Regions from separate parts of the Homo sapiens genome. Here regions 1, 3, 4, 5, 6 and 7 are each linked to region 2. The links are contacts of gene promoters, found by promoter capture Hi-C in blood cells and fetal thymus (Javierre and others, 2016). All regions are on one chromosome and are shown on one strand. The core of a region is centred on a gene start or on the middle of the fragment in contact, and the rest is flanking DNA. Distances in the headings are between cores, read along the strand shown.

Evidence for each region. The method cuts DNA at HindIII sites, captures the fragments that hold promoters and counts their contacts. A CHiCAGO score of 5 or more calls a contact.
Region 1: a fragment that was not itself captured here is called in contact with the fragment with the promoter of GSG1L in region 2 in 5 of 17 cell types (M1 macrophages, megakaryocytes, erythroblasts and 2 more); the score reaches 9.0 in M1 macrophages.
Region 3: a contact is called between a fragment that was not itself captured here and the fragment with the promoter of GSG1L in region 2, in 6 of 17 cell types (M1 macrophages, megakaryocytes, M2 macrophages and 3 more). The highest score is 13.2, in M1 macrophages.
Region 4: a fragment that was not itself captured here is called in contact with the fragment with the promoter of GSG1L in region 2 in 3 of 17 cell types (M1 macrophages, M0 macrophages and megakaryocytes); the score reaches 8.8 in M1 macrophages.
Region 5: a fragment that was not itself captured here is called in contact with the fragment with the promoter of GSG1L in region 2 in 6 of 17 cell types (M0 macrophages, endothelial precursors, megakaryocytes and 3 more); the score reaches 9.2 in M0 macrophages.
Region 6: a contact is called between a fragment that was not itself captured here and the fragment with the promoter of GSG1L in region 2, in 7 of 17 cell types (megakaryocytes, M1 macrophages, M0 macrophages and 4 more). The highest score is 15.7, in megakaryocytes.
Region 7: a contact is called between a fragment that was not itself captured here and the fragment with the promoter of GSG1L in region 2, in 6 of 17 cell types (M0 macrophages, M1 macrophages, megakaryocytes and 3 more). The highest score is 17.8, in M0 macrophages.

What each region holds. Positions count from the first base shown.
Region 1 is chr16:27,708,519-27,711,712 of GRCh38, reverse strand. KATNIP (katanin interacting protein) reads right to left here. Exons shown (of 28, transcript NM_015202.5): 13 at 2,793-3,008. It overlaps LOC100128079 (a long non-coding RNA gene), which reads left to right. Exons shown (of 3, transcript NR_147898.1): 3 at 2,795-3,194. Among named protein-coding and RNA genes, the nearest start is that of KATNIP, 160 kb to the right of the region's middle. The HindIII fragment of the contact is 2,627 bases long and covers 252-2,878 here.
Region 2 is chr16:28,062,454-28,065,289 of GRCh38, reverse strand. GSG1L (GSG1 like) reads left to right here and starts at 1,576. Exons shown (of 7, transcript NM_001109763.2): 1 at 1,576-2,214. The coding sequence starts at 1,866. The HindIII fragment of the contact is 8,058 bases long and covers 1-2,836 here.
Region 3 is chr16:27,584,861-27,587,940 of GRCh38, reverse strand. The region is part of intron 2 of KATNIP (katanin interacting protein); the gene reads right to left. Among named protein-coding and RNA genes, the nearest start is that of KATNIP, 36 kb to the right of the region's middle. The HindIII fragment of the contact is 4,356 bases long and covers 1-3,080 here.
Region 4 is chr16:27,562,934-27,565,871 of GRCh38, reverse strand. The region is part of intron 1 of KATNIP (katanin interacting protein); the gene reads right to left. Among named protein-coding and RNA genes, the nearest start is that of KATNIP, 14 kb to the right of the region's middle. The HindIII fragment of the contact is 7,230 bases long and covers 1-2,938 here.
Region 5 is chr16:27,659,908-27,663,034 of GRCh38, reverse strand. All of the region lies in intron 6 of KATNIP (katanin interacting protein), which reads right to left. LOC107984874 (a long non-coding RNA gene) reads left to right here. Exons shown (of 3, transcript XR_001752113.3): 3 at 1-305. Among named protein-coding and RNA genes, the nearest start is that of KATNIP, 110 kb to the right of the region's middle. The HindIII fragment of the contact is 979 bases long and covers 1,190-2,168 here.
Region 6 is chr16:27,676,233-27,679,482 of GRCh38, reverse strand. KATNIP (katanin interacting protein) reads right to left here. Exons shown (of 28, transcript NM_015202.5): 7 at 1,487-1,754. LOC107984874 (a long non-coding RNA gene) reads left to right here and starts at 268. Exons shown (of 3, transcript XR_001752113.3): 1 at 268-543. The HindIII fragment of the contact is 2,409 bases long and covers 516-2,924 here.
Region 7 is chr16:27,621,888-27,625,108 of GRCh38, reverse strand. All of the region lies in intron 3 of KATNIP (katanin interacting protein), which reads right to left. Among named protein-coding and RNA genes, the nearest start is that of KATNIP, 73 kb to the right of the region's middle. The HindIII fragment of the contact is 8,406 bases long and covers 1-3,221 here.

The DNA of each region.
Region 1 (3,194 bases), core at 316-2,815, 350 kb after region 2:
TTTTACTTGTGACATATATTACACCTTTTCTAAGCAATCTTGAATACCTTCAGGGAGAATCTTTTCCTGCCCTGCTGGGGCATCTTGGTGGAACTGGCATCAAGATGTCCTGCCCTATTCAGTCTGGTCCATCAGCATTCCTCTCCTGAGACTATTTCCAGCAGAGAGTTGCGAGGACAAACCAACCAGCTAACCGACACTGCCGAGGCATCTCAATAAATGGTTGCTGTATGAACTAAGGGAATGAAGCTTTATCCTTTTCTCCATCTCCCCTTCTCATTTTGTTCCCTTCTCTGAAAGTAGCCCCCAACCTTGAGTCATGACCCAGTTTAAGACGTAAGTTAGTGATGGTTTCGGATGCCATGGAAGTGACCACTCACACAAAGGCCAAAACAGTCAACTAAGTAGGACAGCACGATCTCCCCCAGAACCTCAAGTCTGAGAAAAGAATCTTTCCAGAAGAATCTCACATCCTCCTGTTCATCTCCCACCCCCAAAAGACCACACCCGTGGTGGCCAGCATTCCAGGATGCTCCCTAAAACCCCAACTTTCCCCCAAGGCCCATCCTCTCCTGGCCTGCGTGGCAGTGAGTACACTAGCTACTCAAAAGACTTGAAACACATTTACTTTTTAAACATGTGCTAACTGAGCTGGACTCAGTTTCTGCTGCTGGAAATCTAAGAATCTGAACAGATGATTGACCCAATCTCCCATTTTTCAGCTTGCAGAAAAACCCACTCTCAGAGAAGGCAGGCAAGTTGCTGAGGCCAGAGTCAAGACCAGAATCTGGGTCTCTAGAACCAGAGATTTCAAAAACCCCTTTTCTTGTTTCCTCTTCTTTAAAATGGGAATAACACTAACTACTTTTCCCAGTGGTATTAATACTATTAATAATAATAACAATAACAGCAAAGGCTGGGCATGCTGGCTTATGCCCGTAATTCCAGCACTTTGGGAGGCCAAGGTGGGAGGATCACTTGAGGCCAGAGAAACCATCCCAGGTAACATAGTGAGACCCCGTCTCTATAAAAAATTTTACAAAATTAGCCAGATGTGGTGTTGTGTGCCTGTAGTCCCAACTATTTAGGAGGCTGAGGCAGGAGGACAGCTTGAGCCCAGGAGTTTGAGGCTGCAGTGAGCTATGATCACGCAATAACAACATCTTCCCAGGTCTCCGAGGAGATAATTGTGAATGAAGCTGAGGCCCAACATAGCAAAGATGACGTGGCTGCTACTCTGGCTCAGTTTAGCTCACAGTCTCTTGTGTGCAACTTGCAAGTAGCAGGAAGGAAAAAATGCCAGTACCCTCCCCGATCTTTTTTTTGTAAATTCTGTTGTTTGTTTGTTTATTTGTTGAGACGGAGTCCTGCTCCATCGTTCAGGCTGGAGTGTAGTGGCACGATCTTGGCTCACTGCAACCTCCCCTCCCAGGTTCAAGCGACTCTCCTGGCTCAGCCTCAAGTAGGTGGGACTACAGGTGTGTGCCCCAACGCCTGGCTAATTTTTGTATTTTTGGTAGAGACAGGATTTCGCCATGTTGGCCAGGCTGGTCTTGAACTCCAGGCCTCAGGTGATCCGCCCACCTCGGCCTCCCAAAGCGCTGGGATTACAGGTGTCAGCCACTGTACCTGGCTCTGTTGGATATTTAAAGGAAAGAAACATTCAACGTTTGTGGAGTGTGCACCTCACGACCTAGGGCAGCAGGGTCCTGAGGGGGTGTGGGCAAGGGTCCTGGCCCAGGCTGCCCGATATGAACTTGGCTCCACTACCTTCCAGCTGCATGACCTTGGCCAAGTCAATGCCCTTCTCCAAGCTGTAGTTTCTTCAACTACAAAGAACATCCATTAACCTTAATGACCCCTGAGGTCCAGTGTTTGATGGTGACTGTGGAAAACTGCAAGGTGGATAAAAGCAGGTGAATTGGCTCCCCCAAGAAAAACCCACAGAGCAGGGGCTGGGAAACAGCTTAGGGAGAGAGTGTCTGGGGCCTCTGCCAGCACCACTCCCTCAGGTTCCTCCCCAACTTTGCCCAAATGAATAACCCTGGTAGATTTTATCTTATTTATTTTTTTTGAGACAGAGTCTCATTCTGTCACCCAGGCTGGAATGCAGTGGCACAATCTTGGCTTACTGCAATCTCGGCTTACTGTAACCTCTGCCTCCTGGGTTCAAGTGATTCTCCTGCCTCAGCCTCCAGAAGTAGCTGGGATTACAGGCATGTGCCACCACGCCTGGCTAATTTTTGTATTATTAGTAGAGATGGGGTTTCACCATGTTGGCCAGGCTGGTATTGAACTCCTGACTTCAAGTGATCCACTCGCCTCGGCCTCTCAAAGTGCTGGGATTACAGGTGTGAGCCACCATACCCGGCCTATTTTTTTTTTTTTTTTAGAGACAGGGTCTTACTCTGTTGCTCCGACTGGAGTACAGTGGTACAGTCACAGCTCACTGCAGCCTCAATCTCCTTAGGCTCAGGAGATCCTCCCACCTCAGCTTTCCAAGTAGCTGGGACTACAGGCACAAGCCATGATGCCTGGCTAATTTTTTGTGTTTTTTGTAGAGACAGGGTTTTGCCTTGTTGCCCAGGCTGGTCTTGAACTCCTGACCTCAAATGATCCGCCTGCCTCAGCCTCCCAAAGTGCTGGGATTACAGGTGTGAGCCTCTGTACCTGGCCAGATTTTGTTGTTCTTCCCCTCCCTCCACTCATACCCTTAACACAGATTTACCAAGGGCAGAGAAAATGCATGGGAATACACAGCCAAGAAGCAATCCAGTGCCCCTTCCACTCACAGCTAAGTTCCTGTTGACGAGGCGGCCCAGCTCCCCAGGCGTGGCTGTGTTCCGGATATCCACATCGTGGGGCGACACATAAAGCTTTGTGTCATTCAAGTCAAAGAACTCGACTTCTGTGAGACCCACCCACCACGAGTTGCCCCAGTTGGACAGGATCTCCATGGTCACGTAGATGGCATCTTTGATCTCGTCTGCCCTCATTCTCTGTTTGTCCTTAAAGAAGAGAAAAATAACACCAAAGGATTAAGTCATGACAGGCTTGAATTCGGCTCTGCCTCTGCCACCACTGCCTTCAAAAAGTTAGTTAACCTTCAGGGTCTCAGTCTCTCCATCTGTACAATGAGGATAAGAATAGCACCCACTACCTATGGTTATTACAATGATTAAATGAATTCATAC
Region 2 (2,836 bases), core at 327-2,826:
AGGTCCTCTCTTTCAAAATAGTTGAGAATCTCTTGCACAGTGCCAGAAAAGGGCTCTAAAAGCAAGTTTGGAGACCCTTGGCCATCCTTCGTGCCTGCTCTTACCAGGGACGTTGCCCACAACGTTTTCCTCTCACCTACCCCCCGGCAGATTAGCAGCAGCTGACAGTGGGTGCCGGCTCACCCACAGGAGTAAGGCAATTCATAATCGGTTAACCTTGAATTCTGCAAGGCCTGCCACTCGGCAAGCCGGGGGTTGTCGGAGCAGTTCTCAGCTTGGGCAGAATTCAAATGAGCTCTTATAATCAACATGCAATTAATTGTTGCACGCCCTGAGCATCTGGGCAGTAAGTGCTGTGCAGCGCGAAGGGAGTTCAGGGAGCGTGGTCATCTTAGAGCAGAGGTGGGGACGGGGTTGCACACAGTTTCCACGTTGCACAGGAGAGCCTGAAGAGGTTTGTCTGAGTTTGGTCAACTGATCTTGGTTCAGATGTCAGTAACAGTGAATTATTAATTGAGTCTACTGTGTGCCAAATGCTTTTTGCAGCCATGATCTCATTACAGCAGCCCACTGTGATATACCTTGAAGGGGGGGGGGTCCTCCCTTTTTTATAGTTATGGAAATTGAGGCTCAGAGAGGGTAAGTGACCTGTTCAAAGCCACACAGCTGGTCAAGCCCTAGATATGCTTGATCCCAAAGTCAGTATGTTTGGCCACCCTGCCCCCACCCGAATCTTGAAGATTCTACCCACATTCACATGGTGTGCATGTGAGCAGGGTTGGCAGCCCCTGTAGGGCACCACTGCCTGGTAGCTGCAATAACTTTGTGGCCGGCATGGGCCCTCCTAGGGTTCTGCTGTTTGGGATCTCAGGTGGGTGCAGTGGGCTGTCTGGGGTACCCTGTTGCCACTCTTCCTGCAGTTGCATGCCATGGTTGGGAGCCCAGATGACAGTTTCATCCTTGGAGGGGAGCTCTTCCCAGATGCTGGAGGTGACACCCAGGAGACAGAAAAACGTTTCAAACCCTATAACCCAATACTCCAGGAGGGGCGCCTCCTGACAGATTCTGCCACTCCAAGTCCAGCATGGGTTGTCTTATCCAGGGGGTCTTGCAGCTCCCTGGCTGTGGGAAGCCCTGCAGGCTCTGCTGTTTAGAACCTTTGGAAAAACTCCTTTCTCAGGGTCTGGTGCGGGGGTCCTTTTGGGGATCCCCTTCTGGGACAGGGTCCTGCTGGTCCGTGTCCCTCTTGGGGAGCCCCAGCAGGCTCTGCCCTTGTCTCCTGGGGCAGGGCCTCTCTGGGTCTCATGAGATGCCCGCTCCCGGCGGGTTTTGTTGCCCCACGTCCGCCGTGGGGATCTTTTCTCAGGAGCGCCTTGCCTGGGATTCTCCTTGCGTCTCAGACCCTCACCCTGGCTCGGATTTCTTTCGGGGGCGTCCCTCCACTCCCAGGCCCCCGCCCGCGCCCGGCGTGGCGGCCCCCTCTCCCCGTGCGGGCGGGCTCCGGAACAGTGTCGCCGGCCGCCTGCAGGTGTCTCCCCACGGAGGGGCGCGCGTCCCTGCGCCGTGGCCGCTGCCAGGCGCCAGCGGCTCCTAGCCGAGGTGCACTCGCGCTCCGGGCTCCGGGCGCGCCGTAGCCGCTCCTCCACCGCCGCCCGCCCCGCCAGCCCGCCCCGCACGCCCCCCGCGCCGCGCCCCCACCCCGGGGTTGGGGGGGGCATGGGCCCGCGCCGCGTCCGCCGCCGCCGATCTCAGGCACCCGAGCCCCGGGGCGCGGCGGGCAGCGGCCGCTGACGCGGGGCGCCAGCTGCCAACTTCGCGCGCGGAGCTCCCCGGCGGTGCAGTCCCGTCCCGGCGGCGCGGGCGGCATGAAGACTAGCCGCCGCGGCCGAGCGCTCCTGGCCGTGGCCCTGAACCTGCTGGCGCTGCTGTTCGCCACCACCGCTTTCCTCACCACGCACTGGTGCCAGGGCACGCAGCGGGTCCCCAAGCCGGGCTGCGGCCAGGGCGGGCGCGCCAACTGCCCCAACTCGGGCGCCAACGCCACGGCCAACGGCACCGCCGCCCCCGCCGCCGCCGCCGCCGCCGCCACCGCCTCGGGGAACGGCCCCCCTGGCGGCGCGCTCTACAGCTGGGAGACCGGCGACGACCGCTTCCTCTTCAGGAATTTCCACACCGGCATCTGGTACTCGTGCGAGGAGGAGCTCAGCGGGCTTGGTGAGTGCGCGCGGGCGGCGGCCAGCTCGGCTCCGGCTCCCCCGGGGCGGCGCGGCCATCGAGGCCCGAGCCCCGGACCCGTTCGCCCTCCTCCCGCCGCCTGGGCCCAGCTCCCAGCGCTCCGCCTGGCTAGGGGCGACGTTCCGGGGCAGGGGGCGCGCGCCGTTCCGGGGCCGGGGACCAGCATGGGGGGACGTGCGGGACGCCCCGCCGTGGAGAGGTGCAAGGCAGAGCTCCTACCCGCTGCGGACGCCCCGCGGCTTTGGGGACGCTCCCGCGCCCCGGGAAGGCGCCCACCCCCGCTGCCGGTCGGAGGGGCGCGCGCTGCTTTCCGCTCCTGAACTCATCTCCACGCTCGCCCCCTCCTCCTCTTCCTTTCGCGGGGCACTAGATGCCCCCACCCACCCCGGAACGCCCCTGGGGGTGGGGGTGATGCAGGGACTCCTGCTACCAGCCGCCCCTCCTGCCGCAGATCCACAGACCCGGGAGCCTTCCACCCCCATCGCCAACCCACGCCGAACCTCCCAGACGGGAGTGGGGAGTGGGGGAGTCCCGCGGGCTCCCGGAAAGCCGCACCCGCCCAGAGGCACCCCTATTGCCAGACGCCAGGGAGCCCTCTGTA
Region 3 (3,080 bases), core at 549-3,048, 480 kb after region 2:
CTGCCTCAAAAAAAAAAAAGAAAAGAAAAGAAAAGAAAAAGGAAAGGGAAAAGGGAAAAGAAAAAAAAAAGCTAGAAAGAAATATAAATAGATGATACCAATGGATCATCTTAGGATTTTTCAACTTTATTGTGGTATGAAAGCAATATACATTCAGTGGAAACTGTACTTCAAGTACCTAAACAAGCATTCTGTTTTTCACTTTGAGTACAGTACTCAATAAATTACATGAGATATTCAACACTTCATGATGAAACATGCCTTGTGTTAGATGATTTTGCCCAACTGTAGGCTAATATTTAAGTGCCGTGAGCACATTTAAGGTAGGCTAGGTTGAGCTATGATGTTCAGCAGGTTAAGTACAGTATTTTCAACTTAGGATGGGTTTATTGGGACATAACCCATTGTATGTTAAGGAGCATCTGTAATAGTGATTATCTAGGTTGGTACGATAACGAACCATTTTTGTACCTTTCTGCATTTTCTAATTTCTTGACAATCAGCATGCATTAGTTGTGGAATCAGAAAGAAATTAAATGTCGAATGCAGGGCCCACTGGCCTGGCTATCTGCAGGTGTAAACTACACCAACCCTGCCTCCCTACCCCAACCCCAGCTACTCCAGCTGATGGAACACGGTGTGGACAGGATCTGACAGAGGGACTCAATGAATAATAAACAGCAAACACTTAAACAGCCCTTACAGATATGGTTCTAAGTGCTTCACATGTATTAGTCTTTTAATTCTCTCAACAACTCCAGGAGGAGGTACTCTATTTTCAGCTCCATTCTGCAGCTGAGGAAACTGACGCGCAGAGAGGTTAGGTAATTGCTGAAAACTACACAGCTAGTAGTAGAGCCAGGATGTGAACCCAGGCTGTCTGCCCCAGCCTCCTGCCTTGCCTGCCCGGGACCGTTCCACCTCAGTGCCAAGCCATCTCCCAGGACTTCAATAAAGCACGAGTGGCCCAAACAATGTATTTTTTAAAGAGTTTAGGTTTCTATATTAAAAAAAAAAAAAAAGAAGAAGAAGTTGGAAAAGTCCAGAATTTTATTGAACTTCCTTATACTTATTTCAGTTTCTGTTTTTTGTTTTTTTGTTTTTTTTTTTTTGAGACAGGGTCTCACTTTGTCACCCAGGCTGGAGTGCAGTGGCGCGATCTTGGCTTATTGCACACTCAATCTCCCGGGCTCAGGTGATCCTCCGACCTCGGCCTCCCAAGTAGCTGGGACTACAGGCATGCAACACTGTGCCTGGCTCATTTTTGTATTTTTAGTAGATACGGGGTTTTGCCATGTTGCCCAGGCTGGTCTCGAACTCCTGGGCTCAAGTGATCCTCCTGCCTTGGCCTCCCAAAGTGCTGGGATTACAGTTGTGAGCCACTGCATCTGACCTTATTTCAGTTTTTGTTTTGAATTATATAGTGGTGGTGGGGAGGAAGGCACAGTTCACTTGCTTCTTTTTTTTATTGGTAATTATTTTTAATTGTAATTTTTTTTTGAGGCAGGGTCTCACTATGTTGCCAGGCTGGCCTCAAACTCCTGGGCTCAAGTGATCCTCCTGCCTAAGCCTCCCAAAATGCTAGGATTGCAAGCATGAGCCACCACATCTGGCCTTCAGTAGCTTCTTTTTAAGAAATTCTTAATTTATTTTTATTTTTAATTTTTGTGGGTACATAATGGGTGTATATATTTATGAGTTACATGAGATGTTTTTATACAGGGATACAATGCATAATAAGCACATCAGGGTAAAAGGGGTATCCATCCCCTCAAGCATTTATCCTTTGTGTTTATAAACAACCCAAGTATATTCTTTTAGTTATTATTATTATTTTTTTGAGACAGAGTCTCCCTCTTATCGCCCAGGCTGGAGTGCATTGGCATGATCTCGGCTCACTGCAACCTCTGTTTCCTGGTTTAAGTGATTCTCCTGCTTCAGCCTCCCCAGTAGCTGGGACTACAGGTGTGTGCCACCACGCCCGCCTAATTTTGTATTTTCAGTAGAGACAGGGTTTCACCATGTTGCCTGGGCTGATCTGGAACTCCTGACCTCAAGTGATCCGCCTGCCTCGGCCTCCCAAAGTGCTGGGATTACAGGTGTGAGCCACTGCACCCAGCCATTCTTTCTACTTTTTTTGTGCCCATTAACCATCCTCACTTCTCCTGCCACCCTCCGTAGCCTCTGGGACCCATCCGTCTATTCTCTATGTCCATGAGTTTAATTTTTAGCTCCCATAAATAAGTGAGAACATGTGAAGTTTGTCTTTCTGTGCCTGGCTTATTTTACTAAACATAATAACCTCCAGTTCCACCCATGTTGTTGCAAATGACAGGATCTCATTCTTTTTTCTGGCTGCACAGGACTCCATTGTGTGTGTGTACCACATTCTCTTTATACGTGTGTCTGTTGGACACTGAGGTTGCTTCCAAGTCTTGGCTATTATGAACAGTGCTGCAAGAAACATGGGAGTGGAAAAATCCCTTCGATATACCCACTTCCTTTCTTCTGTGTATACATTTAGGAGCGGAATTGCTGGATCGTATGGTAGCTATTTTTTGAGGAATCTCCAAACTGTTCTCCATAGTGATCATACTAATTTACATTCCCAACAAACATGTACAAGGATTCCCTTTTCTCTGTATCCTCGCCAGTATTTGTTTTTGCCTGTCTTTTGAATAAAAGCCATTTTAACTGGGATGAGATGATATCTCATTGTAGTTTTGATTTGTGTCTAGTGGCTTCTAACTGGAATCTGGCTGTAGTTAATTGCATTGAGTTTGGGGAGGTAAGTATCAGACCAGCTCCCCTTGCCAGATGAGGAAACTGAGTCTCACATTTACCTGGCAGTCATTGCCTCTGCCCAGCCCTGTGGTCACAGGAGTTTGGGGTCCTCCTGTCTGGCTGTAAACCAGTAGCAAGGGCCTACAGGGAGGAGGGGGAGTGGCATGTTCTTGCCACTTTGCCAGGGTGCACATAACACAGGCTATCAGCTGAGCCCTGTACTTGCTGTGTTACCCAGGGCAGGCTGTCTCACCGCTCTGAGCCTAGACTTCCTCTCATGTAAGATAAGGATAATA
Region 4 (2,938 bases), core at 32-2,531, 500 kb after region 2:
TTCCAACTCAGTACATAACTAGGCAGACAGATCTCCCACTTTCCCACTCTTCCTTTGTTTTTTTTTTTTGTTTTTTTGTTGTTTTTTTTATGAGACATCTCACTCTGCTGTCCCGGCTAGAGTGCAGTGGTGTGATCATAGCTCACTGCAGTCTCAAACTCCTGGGCTCAAGCCATTCTCCCACCTCAGCCTCCAGAATAGCTGGCACTATAGGTATGTGCCACCACACTTGGCTAAAACTTACTTTTGTAGAGACAGGGGTCTCACTATGTTGCCCACGCTGGGCTCAAACTCCTGGATTCAAAGCAATCTCCCACCTTTGCCTTCCAAAGTGTTGGTATTACAGGCGTGAAGCAGCATGCCTGACTTTCCCATTATTTCTTTTCTTTCCTTTTTTTTTTTTTTTGAGACAGAGTCTCACTCTGTCGCCCAGGCTGGAGTGCAGTGGCGCAATCTCGCCTCACTGCAACCTCTGCCTCCGAGGTTCAAGTGATTCTCCCACCTCAGCCTCCCAAGTAGCTGGGATTACAGGGGTACGACATCATACCCAGCTAATTTTTGCATTTTTAACAGAGACGGGGTTTCACTATGTTGGCCAAGCTGGTCTCAAACTCCTGACATCAGGTGATCCACCCGCCTCGGCCTCCCAAAATGCTGGGATTACAGGTGTGAGCCACCGCGCCTGGACTCCTATTATTTCTTTATCTTGATGCCATGGACCCGTTTTGAGGGGACTTCTTTAAGGACATCCCACTAAAACAACAGAAATCTATTAGACAAAGAGCAGGACTGTTTGAAAGCCAGGTAGGGCCGGGCGTGGTGGCTCACACCTATAATCCCAGCACTTTGGGAGGCCGAGGCAGGCGGAACACCTGAGGTCAGAAGTTGAGACCAGCTTGGCTAACATGGTGAAACCCTGTCTCTACCAAAAATACAAAAAATTAGCCGGGTGTGGTGGCGCATGCCTTTAATCCCAGCTACTATGGAGGCTGAGGCAGGAGAATCGCTTGAACCCAGTAGACGGAGGTTGCAGTGAGCTGAGATTGCGCCATTACTCCAACTTGGGCAAGAAGAGTGAAACTCCGTCAAAAAAAAGCAAGCAAGCAAGCAAGCAAGCAAGCAAGCCAGGCAGACACCGGCTCTGCAACACCCCTTCCCTTCATTCCCCACGTGTGCCTCCAGGCTGATGTGGGCCTTTAAGTTACCTTCCTTTTTGGAAAGCCTGATATGATACCCCTGTCACTTTTCCTTTGCATTTTCTGTGTAACTTGACTTCTGGGGCCCAGTTTACTGCCAAATTACCTGGGATAAACAAGTCATGCTAAGATCTTCTTTTCCTTTCCAAACCCAAACAGCAGCTGGCATACAGAAATGCTTATTTATAACCTGCACACCGTTAACGCGCATTTGCTTGGTTTAGAAATGCTTAGCCATGTGTTCTTCTGGGAGCTTCATAATTAGGTAAGAGCCTGGGGACAATGCTGTGTGGCGGCTGAGAGGGGAGGCTCTGGGTCAGCCCGTCTCTCTTAGCTACTCATTACCCATTTGGGAGTCCTATTAGTCCTGACTCCATTTAAGTCTATTGTCAGGGTTAAGGCACTACATGTAAAACTCTCAGAACAGTGCCCTGCATACAGTAGGTACTTAGCAGTTATTAGTTCCCATAAACTGCTGACTATTCATGGATCTCAGCCAGTTCAACTGAACTTGGGCTTCCAAATAGATCTGGAACCTGCTCATTCCTATCATCCCGCTCTCCAAGCCAGGCCCCGTCAACTCCCCCTGGGCTTTTTCTTTTTTCTTTTTTCCAGACAGGGTCTTGCTCTGTTGCCCAGGCTGGAGTGCAGTGGGCATGATCATGGCTCACTGCAGTCTCGACCTACTGGGCTCAAGTGATCCTCCTGCCTCAGCCTCCTAAGTAGCTAGGACACAGGTATGTGCCATCATGGCCAGCTTTTTTTTTTTTTTTTTTTTTTTTTTAATTTACTAGAGATGAGGTCTCACTATGTTGCCTAGCTGGTCTCGAACTCCTGGGTTCAAGCAATTCTACCCATCTCAGCTTCCCAACGTGCTGGGATTAGAGGCATGAGCCACTGCATGTGACCAACTTTTTCAACAGCCACCTAGTAGGTATCCCTGCCTCCACTCTTGCCTGGATTTTCCTATGGCAGCCATATAAAAACCAGACCCTACCACTTGCCTGCCTGAACTTCTAATGTTTCCCTGTGCATGCAGAAAAGAATCCAAGCCTCATTCTGACCAGGCTCTGCATGGCCTGGCCCACGGGATATTTTGGACCTCTCCTCCCTCTTCCCTGCAGCCCTCTTCCCTGCAGTCTTTCTTCTTTGTATTTAGAGAAGGAACCTTGCTCTATTGCCCAGGCTGGACTGCAGTGGTGTGATCACAGCTCACTGCAGCCTCGACCTCCCAGGCTCAAGCGATACACCCAAGTGGACTCCTGCACAGATGGGACCACAGGCGTGCACCACTGCACCTAGTCCCACATCCCTCTTCTGCTCCGTAGACCCAAGACTCCTTCCTGCCTCAGGGCCTTAGCTCTCTCCTCTGGGCCAAGAGCACTCATGCCCTTGGTCTTATGAGGGATCCTTCTTAGCAATGAGATTTCAGCTTAAAACCACCCACCTCTCCAGAGGGACCCAGCCCTCAGTCCTCCGTCTTAACCTTCTGCATGGCACTTACTGACATTTTCTTATTAATATGTTTGTAGTCTGTCTCCCCAACTAAAAATAAGCCCCATGAAACCAGAGGCTGCTATCTGGCTTATCAGTGAATTCTCCACACCTGGAATAGTGCCTAGAATGGAGTGTGCATCAGTAGAAATTTCTGAAATGGATGAACGAGTAAATGACCGAATTTCTGAATAGACAATGCTGAAAGGGACAGAAGGCATGACCGTGTTCTGCAGTAGAGATGTCAT
Region 5 (3,127 bases), core at 430-2,929, 400 kb after region 2:
AGCAGAAATAAGCTGAAAAAAAAATAAATAAATGAGTAAATGAATGAATGGATGACTAAATAAATAACGTATACTTGCTCAATAAAAGTAAAAGCTGGAGATGGTTTGGCTGGGTAGATATAGACAGCTTTTCATATTATACTCAACTTACTTCTAAACTGTTTGAATCTTTTTAAATGAGAAGGCACCCATGTATTAGGTGTTAGATAAAATGATACAAAATAATGTAAAAATTGTTTCACATCATACCTAAGAAATTCTAGGTCGGCTATAAATGCAAGATATTAAAGTTATTCTAATATTGATTCAGAAGTTAATCTTTATTTTCATTAAGATTGAAAAATATGCTTTATTAAGTTCAATTCATCTGGCACCTTCATTTGTAGAAACACCCTACTGAGGGATGGGATCACTACATCTCTTACTTCTGGACCTGTAATTCATGGGCATTTAGTGCTTGTTCAGCATCATTTCACATCATTCATGCTCATCACCAAATTATTCCTGCTCAGCTTGCCCTGTGCTGTCTGACCCACCTGCCCAGGGCCCTTTCTAATGCCACAAGCCAGCCGTCTTTTGGTCTGAGCTGTCCAGTTGGTCATCCCTGGGGGCCTTTGATGTTTCTGGGTAACAGACGGGCTAGGTCAAGAGCCACTGTCAAGGAGAAAGAGCTCTTCCTCCTGTCTCATCAGGAACTGACAAAGCTTTCATTATCTAAACCAGAAGTTGCAAGTTGGTAGTCTAAAGGCCACATCTGGCCAGCAGGTATATTTTGTTTGGTCCACAGGAAATTGTGAATTAGGCTGGGCATGGTGGCTCATGCCTGTAATCCCAATGCTTTGGGAGGCCTACGCAGGCGGACTGCTTGAGCTCAGGAGTTCAAGACCAGCCAGGGCAACACAGTGAAACCCCATTTATACTATATATATATATATATATGTATGTGTATATATATATGTGTGTATATATATATATATATATATATGTATGTGTATATATATATATATATATGTATGTGTATATATATATATATATATATATGTATGTGTATATATATATATATATATATATGTATGTGTATATATATATATATATATATATATATATATATATATATATATATTAGCCAGGCACAGTGGCTTGTGCCTGTAATCCCAGCTACCTGGGAGGCTGAGGTAGTAGGAAAGCTTGAGCTCAGGAGGTTGAGGCTGCAGTGAGCTATGATTACGCCACTGCACTCCAGCCTAGGTGACAGGGCAATACCCTGTCTGAAAAACAAACAAACTATAAATTAGTTGCCAACATAGAAATAATTGGGGGAAATCAAACATAAAGAAACCCAGGCCGGGCGCAGTGGCTCACGCCTGTAATCCCAGCACTTTGGGAGGCCTAGGTGGGTGGATCACCTGAGGTCAGGAGTTCGAGACCAGCCTGGCCAACATGGTGAAACCCCCGTCTCTACTAAAAATACAAAAATTAGCTGGGCATGGTGGTGTACGCCTGTAGTCCCAGCTACTTGGGAGGCTGAGGCAGGAGAATCGCATTAACCCGGGAGGCGGAGGTTGCAGTGAGCCGAGACCATGCCATTGCACTCCAGCCTGGGCGACAGAGTGAGACTCTGTTTCAAAAAAAAGAAAAGAAAGAAACCCAGAAACCCAGATACCTGGCTTCTCTTAAACCTAAAAAGCCTGGCACCACTAGGCCCATATTTCTACACGATGACAGTCCACTGTGATTGTCTGCTACTATCCCCACCATTCCCTGCATGCCCTGACTGACCCACCTGCCTCACTCAGGTGATTTAAAATATTCTCTCACATTAAGAACATGTGCCAGAAATCCCAATATTTCAGGATCCAAACTACATATCTCAAACTGACTCTTCTACCCCAAGCAACACAAAAATTCCTTGTTAGATTATGTGTCCTGATTCACAGTTTGGAAAACACTCACTGTAATCATAACTCAGTGATGTGATGACTGAAGTCCCTTGTGTGGGCTGGTCAGGGTGCCTAATCAACAGCTATACCACTCACTCATTGATTCAATCATTCAATCCACTTGCTCAATGAAGATTTATTTGCAGACCAACTCTATGCCAGGCACTTTTCTAGGGACAAGAGACACAGCAGGCAATGAGACGGAGCACATTCTGCTATCATGAAGCTTAGATCTGGGATGGGGGAAGGTGTTTGAGGCCCTAAATACTGAACTTGCAAAAGACCTAGAGCAATAGCTGGATGCGGTGGTGTGTGCCTGTATCCTGAGCTACTTGAGGGGGATGGCTTGGGGCCAGGTGTTTGAGGCTGTAGTGCACTATAATTGCACCTGTGAATAGCCACTGCATTATAGCCTGGGCAATGTAGTGAGACCCCATCTCTTAAAAAAAAAAAAAAAAGTACTGATATGAGCCAGAGCTCCACAAACTATTATGTATCGTCTACTCCCATCGATGGATTTGTTGTTGTTGTTGTTTTGTTCTGTTTGAGATGGAGTCTTGCTCTGTTGCCCAGGCTGGAGTGCAGTGGTGCCATCTCGGCTCACTGCAACCTCCACCTCCCGGGTTCAAGTGATTCTCCTGTCTCAGCCTCCTGAGTAGCTGGGATTACAGGCATGCGCCACCATGCCTGGTTAATTTTTGTATTTTTAATAGAGACGGGGTTTCACCATGTTGGCCAGGCTGGTCTCAAACTCCTGACCTCAGGTGATCCGCCCACCTTGGCCTCCCAAAATGCTGGGATAACAGGCGTGAGCCACTGCCGGCCAATCCACGGATTTTGTAATATGGGAATAAGATTTTCTTATAAACCATACCTAGGATTTACGATTTCAGAGCTGGCAGGTGCAGGAGATATTTAATTCACCGCTTCTTGTTAAAGGAGGAAATGGGGGCCCCAGAGGAGTATGACTTAGCCAAGGCCCCAGAATGTTTATGGAAAAACCCAAGCTACCTTCCCAGGCTTGCGGAATCTGTCACTTGGTATTTCTCCTCCCTAAAACAAGACTCGCAAACTCCGACATCCTCAGGAGGCGTAATGTTATATAAACTATCAAATAAACCACAGTGTTGTACAATAGGTAGTGGGGACCAGGCCAAACTGGGGGTGCATGCTCAGAAGAAAAGTTT
Region 6 (3,250 bases), core at 471-2,970, 390 kb after region 2:
GTGCCTGGCCCCCTCCAAACTCATACATTGAAATCCTAGCCGCCAGTACCCCTGACTGTATTTGGGCACAAGGTCTTTAAAGAGGTAATTAACTAAAAACAAGGTCATATAGGTGGGCCCTAATCCAATATAACTTCTCCTAAGAAGAGGAGATTAGGACACAGACACACACAGAGGGAAGACCACAGGAAGACACAGGGAGAAGATGGCTGTCTACAAGCCACAAAGAAGGAAAAGGCCTCAGAAGAAACTGACTCTTGATCTCAGGCTTCCAGTCTCCAGAACTATGAGAGAGTAAATTCCTGCTGTTTAAGCCACCCAGTCTGTGGTACTTTGTCATGACAACCCTCGCAAACTGACACACTGTCTGATTCCAAACATTCCCTCATTTCTCTTTCCTTAGGTTCATCATGGTTCAGAAAAGTTTGTCTTCTCTTGGCACACCCAGCTTTGACGGTGCACATGAATAGGATACAGAGGTGCAGGCAGAGGCCAGGCCAGCCCGAGTCAAAGCTTAGGAACAGAGGATGAAGACTGTTGCAAGTAGGCCTCTCCCCATCAAGTCCTTCTCTCTCCTCCCTGCCCCTCACCAATCGTTTTGCTCGTTCTACTTTCCAAGATCTTTCTTGACAAACTTCCTCCATTGGACACTGCTGTCTCTGCGTGCCAGCATCCTCCCTCCTTCAGGTTCACCTTGAGTTTCTTTTGGAGATGAGAGCTTTACCGCACTATCGTGTGGCTGGGTGGTGATAACCACACCCCTTAGTCCTATTGGCTGGACCTGGCCCATCAGAGCCACGGTGATCCAATCCAAGACAGCATGTGACCCCGTGTGGGTTGGAGAACCAGGTCTGGGACTTTTGCTGGGCCTTTTGGGAAAGAAAAATTCACTTTCTGAGGGGTTGCAAAGTCAGTGTCTTATTTAAAGGCAATTCTGCCTTTGTATGTTGGATAGTCTACTAAGAATGGAAGCAAGACACAGGAAAGCAGAGAAGGAGGAGAGCAAGAGGGAGAGGGAGATGGGAGAAGACAGAGGGAAGAGGCCAGAAGGGAAAAGGAGAGGGAAGAGGGGAGATGGGAGAGAGATGGAGACGGAGAGGGAAAAGAAGACGAAGAGGGAGAGGGGAGAAAATGAGTCTTGCTACATCTCAGAACCTTTCAGTTACTCAAGTCAATAAATAGTCCCTTAGCTTAAGCTAGTCTGTATTAGCCAACTGGTATGTAGATGCTGCAAAACATCTTACAGTGTACAGAACAGACACCTCCAACTATCTGCCAGGAATTTACCATCTGGAATTTCAGGGCCCTGAGGAAGCCTTTGGGAAGCTCTGCGTCTTGCAATCAACAGAGACCTGACTGATATACCTCCCTGGCCTGTGAGACACTCTACCCAAAGAGGAACTCAAAGGACCACTGGAAGTTTAAGTCCTGCTATTAGATGCAGAGACACCAATGGCAAAGAAATGATATACAAGACAGAGCTCACTTTTGGAAGCTGGGTTAAATTCCAGCACCACGAGGGTGTCTGGGCCTGGAGAAGAGCGTCCTTCTGTCTCCTGTTCCCCGTGAACATCTTTCTGAGTCCAGTCGCCACTGGAAGGAGGGCGGTCATGTCTGGGATGGCCCACCAGTGCCGGGTCCTCTGGCTCAGGCTCAGAGAGTATGTCTTCCTCAATAGAGTCATACTCATCGCTGGAACAATCCTTTTGTTTCCTTTGTAGATTTACACTAAGTTCCAGGCTTCTTCTCAGCTCCTGCAAAAAGCCCAGAAGAGAGATGAGAGATAAATATGGTACCTTGAGAAAAACTTATTTGAAAATAGATCATTTGAACCAAAGAATTATTCTCCCCAAACTAACATTTAACAATATTATCTCAACCCTTGTGATGTCACTGCTTTGAAGACGAGAAAACAAAGGGCAGGGGAAAATGAGTAACTCCCTGGACAGAGCAATGTTGTTAATATTAACTGTGGTGTTTGTATCCCGGAGATGCCGGGGGAAGGTGGGGTGGGGGGGAGTGCACATGTGAAGGAGAGGGAGAGAGAAACAGACAATATGGTTTGTTAAAATCTGGGGCTTGTTCAAACAGATTGTGGAGTCCCACCCACTGATTCAGTGGGTCTGGGATGGGGCCTGAGGATTTACATTTCTAATAAGGTGATCCTGACACTGCTGGTCCAGGGACCACACTTTGAAATATGAACTCCCAAAGGCCTCCAAATGACCCTAAACTTCCAGATGGTAAAATGTCTGTCAGGTAGTTGTTAGGGGCTGACCTGCATATTGCAGGGTGTTGAGCGGCATCTAAATGTCATACTATTTAGCACTTAACTACAACTGCTTCAAGATTTTTTTCATGTTTCTTTTGTCTACATGAAATTGTAGATTCCTTATGGCTAAGCATTAAGATCTATATTTAGAGTGACCAGGACATGAATCACCCAAACCAAGACATTTCAGAGAGAAAGCGAGCACTACTATATTTACACTGGGACAAAAAGTATAAACGGAGCTGGGACAGTGGCTCATGTTTGTAATCCCATCACTTTGGGAGGCCGAGGCAAAAGGACTGGTTGAGAACAGGAGTTCAAGACCAGCCTGGGCAACACAGTGAGACCCTGTCTCTACAAAAAATAAACAAAAATTAGCTGAGTATGGTGATGCATGCCTGTAGTCCCAGCTACTCGGGAGGTTGAGGTGGGAGGATCACCTGAGCCTGGGAAGTTGAGGCTGCAGTGAGCTATGATTGCCACTGTACTCTAGCCTGGAGATACACACACACACACACACACATGCACACATATATATAGATGGGACTGTTTGGGCAAACCAGTATGTTTGGTCAGCCTAGCTATACTACCCCTTGTAGCCTATATAGTATCCAATGTAGTTCTAAGAAAATGGGAAGCAATCAATAAAGCTTTGATAATTGACCAATAAACCTAATAGTTATTGCAGTAGGCTGAATAAGGGCTCCCCAAAGATGTCCACATCCTAATCCCTAGAACCTGTGAACTCCTGAGGGCTCAGGAGGAAGTGAGGAACACCTTGAGTGTATAGAACACTTTTACCATCTTAGAGAAATCATCCTATACAGACCGATGATAGAAATATAGATGTTACAGGCACCACTGGTGAGGACTCAGGAAATGAACATGTAATTGAAAACTGGAGCCCAGGGAATCCTGTTATGTAGCAGTAGAATCTTAGCTGAATTGTGTCCTACAGTGCTGTGGAAAGCAGAATAT
Region 7 (3,221 bases), core at 669-3,168, 440 kb after region 2:
ACTTTGCATAAAAAGCTGTCCTGGGCAGAGGGGACTCAGATAAATCAGATTCCTCTCCTGCCCTATCTAAAATCGAACTCTTCCCTCCTGCTGCCCTGCCACCCTCTACTGGCTTGCCGGTTCAACTTTTTCCAATGGCACACTATCACTGGCTAATGTTATATTATGGATGTATCTGTGTATTTGTTTATTCTTCTTCCCCCGCACTGGACTCTGAGCCTCTGTCCTATGGGCCATGGTGCCTGCTGAATGAGGAAAGCTCTCAATGGCTATTTCTTTCTTTTCTTTTTTTCCCGGGTCTTGCTCTGGTGCCCAGGCTGGAGTGTAGTGGTGTGATCACAGCTCACTGCAGCCTTGATCTCCTGGGCTCAAGCAATCCTCCCACCTCAGCCTCTCGAGTAGCAGGGACTACAGGTGCGTGCCACCACACCCGGCTAATTTTTGTATTTTTTTTTTGTAGAGACAGGGTCTCCCTGTGTTGTCCAGGCTGGTCTCAAACTCCTAGGCTCAGTGGATCCACCCACCTTGGCTTCCCAAAGTCCTGGGATTACAGGCATGAGCCACTGCGTCTGGCCTCAATGCCTGTTTCTGGAACAAGTGACCCCAAGGATCTCAAGTTGGGGCAGGAGACATGGATGAATACCCTAGTGCTCACAGCTACTATTCACGTGATGCACACCACACCCATCATTTCCATTTTATGCCCATGTTGGCCTTTGGGATCACCTGCACAGATGAGGAAGTGAAGGAGTGAGTGGGGAGTACAGGGTGTGATGAGGCAGTCTAGGGACCTGACATGGCTGGGGCTGGGGTGGTTCGGGGAGGAGTCTCCTCCTCGTGGGCCACCGGGGCAGGGACCTAGATGGCAAGGAGGACCCAGTGAACACAAGGGCCCTTTGAACACAAAGTTTCAAAGGGAAACTTACAGGAAAACTTGCCCACAAAAGTGCTGGGCCTGCAGCCCCAGGAGAAGATCCAGGCAGAAAGAAGGAAGGAGAGAACCAGCATCACTGGGGGCCTCACCTGGACCTTTGTCTGAGCCAGAGCTTTAACCCAGTCTATCCTTTTGTCCTCATGGCAGCCCAGGGAGGTGCCGGCATCTTTAGTCTCCTGTTACAGAAGAGGAAACAGACCCCAGGGAGGTTTAGGGACTTGCTCAAGGTCATGCAAGCTGGGGAAATGGCAGAGCCTCTGGCAATGAGGACCCTTTGAACACAAGGGCCCTTTGAACACAAAGGGCAGGTCACTGTGTTCTCAGAGGGCAGCGGCTTAATTGTGACTAGGCTTATGACTGAGTGGTCTCTGAGTGGTGTGGCTGCCATGGCACTATAGATGAACCACATGGTTCCTCCAGATCTCGGTCATCTCAGGTCGCCTGAGGGGTTTCCCCAAGGATCAGCCATTCAAGAATTACCTGGATGTCAATTTGGGGAGAAGGCATTTATATCGAAAGGATGATAATAATAATAAACATTAAAAAAATTAGCTGGATGTGGTGGCCCGCACATGTAGGCCCAGCTACTAGGGAATCTGAGGCAAGAGGATCGCTTGAGTCCAGGGGTTGGAGAGTGCAGTGAGCTATGATCACACCAATGCACTCCAACCTAGGCAACAGAGTGAGACCCCCATCTCAATCAATCAATCAATCAATCAGTCAATAACTGAATGATGATAATGATGATGATGATAATGATGATGAATACTGGGTTGGGTAGGGGGCTTGCTATGGGCCTTCAAGGGCCTTGTCTCACTTCACCCTTCAGTGATCCTGGGACTGAGGTTCTGTTGGCCTGTTTTAGAAATGAACTTGCCCAAGGCCAGAGAGCCAAGGAAACCTCCAACCTGGATTTGAGTTCTGGCCCGTGGGGCTGCAGTGCTTGTGCTCTCCCCTGCTCCTTCCTGCTGTTTCTTGCCTCTAGCACCAGGCATCACAGAGGCTCTGAGCAAGAAGAGGTCAGAGGAGAGAGCACTGGCTCGCAACTGGGGGCTCCTTGGAGGGGGTGGCATTTGAGTCCAGTCTTGAAGGGTGAAGACAGGGAGGGCAGGGGTGTAAAAAGAAGCCTGCCATTCCTCCCCAGAACCTGTAGGTCACCTAGGATGCTCCACAGAGCTGCACATAAGAGCATCTGTGCAGGTGGAGGAGGTGAGTGTGGAGGACGGAGCTCATTGCCAGAGACTCCACCATTTCCCCAGCTTGCATGACCTTGAGCAAGTTCCTAAACCTCCCTGGGGTCTGTTTCCTCTTCTGTAACAGGAGACTAAAGATGCCGGCACCTCCCTGGGCTGCCATGAGGACAAAAGGATAGACTGGGTTAAAGCGCTGGCTCAGACAAAGGTCCAGGTGAGGCCCCCAGTGATGCTGGTTCTCTCCTTCCTTCTTTCTGCCTGGATCTTCTCCTGGGGCTGCAGGCCCAGCACTTTTGTGGGCAAGTTTTCCTGTAAGTTTCCCTTGAATGACCTTTCTCAAGGACCAAATGATCACAGCATTGCTGGATTCTTGGACCTGGAGAGCAAATCTGGGTCTACCCCCTGCAGTCTAGAGGTGTATATTACAGCCCCTCTCTGCTGTCACCTCTTCAGATACAAGGGCCCTCATCTTCTCAGTCGATCTTCATCACTCAGCCCTTTGATCACTCCGCCTGCCCTTTTATGAATCTTGTCGGGCATGATTACCTCTTTCATGAGGTTGAGTGACAAGAATCACTCAGAGTCCACTGGGACAGGCAGCTGGCAGGGTTTCTGCAGGAGTGAGGCAAGGCTGTCACATCTCCAGACTCTGTCCCCCTACTCCCTGCCCCCAGTCTTCTCCTGGAGCACACAATCACTTTCTGCTTCTTTTGTCATAGTTATAGGTGGCCTTGCGCTCACCCTGCCACTACTGGGGAGTTCTTCAAGGGTAAGAGCTGTGTGGTGGACACCTGCTCTCTCTGCCTGGCCAGGAATCTCCCCCATCTTCCAAACAGAGCCCCTCAGATCTCCACTGGGTACAGCACCATTCCTTCTTTGACTCCATGAAACTGACTCCACCGGGTGAAACTGACTCCACTGCACAATGTAGTGGGGTGGCCAAGGAACGGCCAGTAGACTGCGCCATCTCACCAGACACAGGGAGTGATTGGCTTGTATATAGTTAGGATGTATGACCCCTCTAAATCTCATGCTGGATTGTAATCCCTAGTGTCGAGGTAGGACCTGGTGGGAGGTGACTGAATCATGGGGGC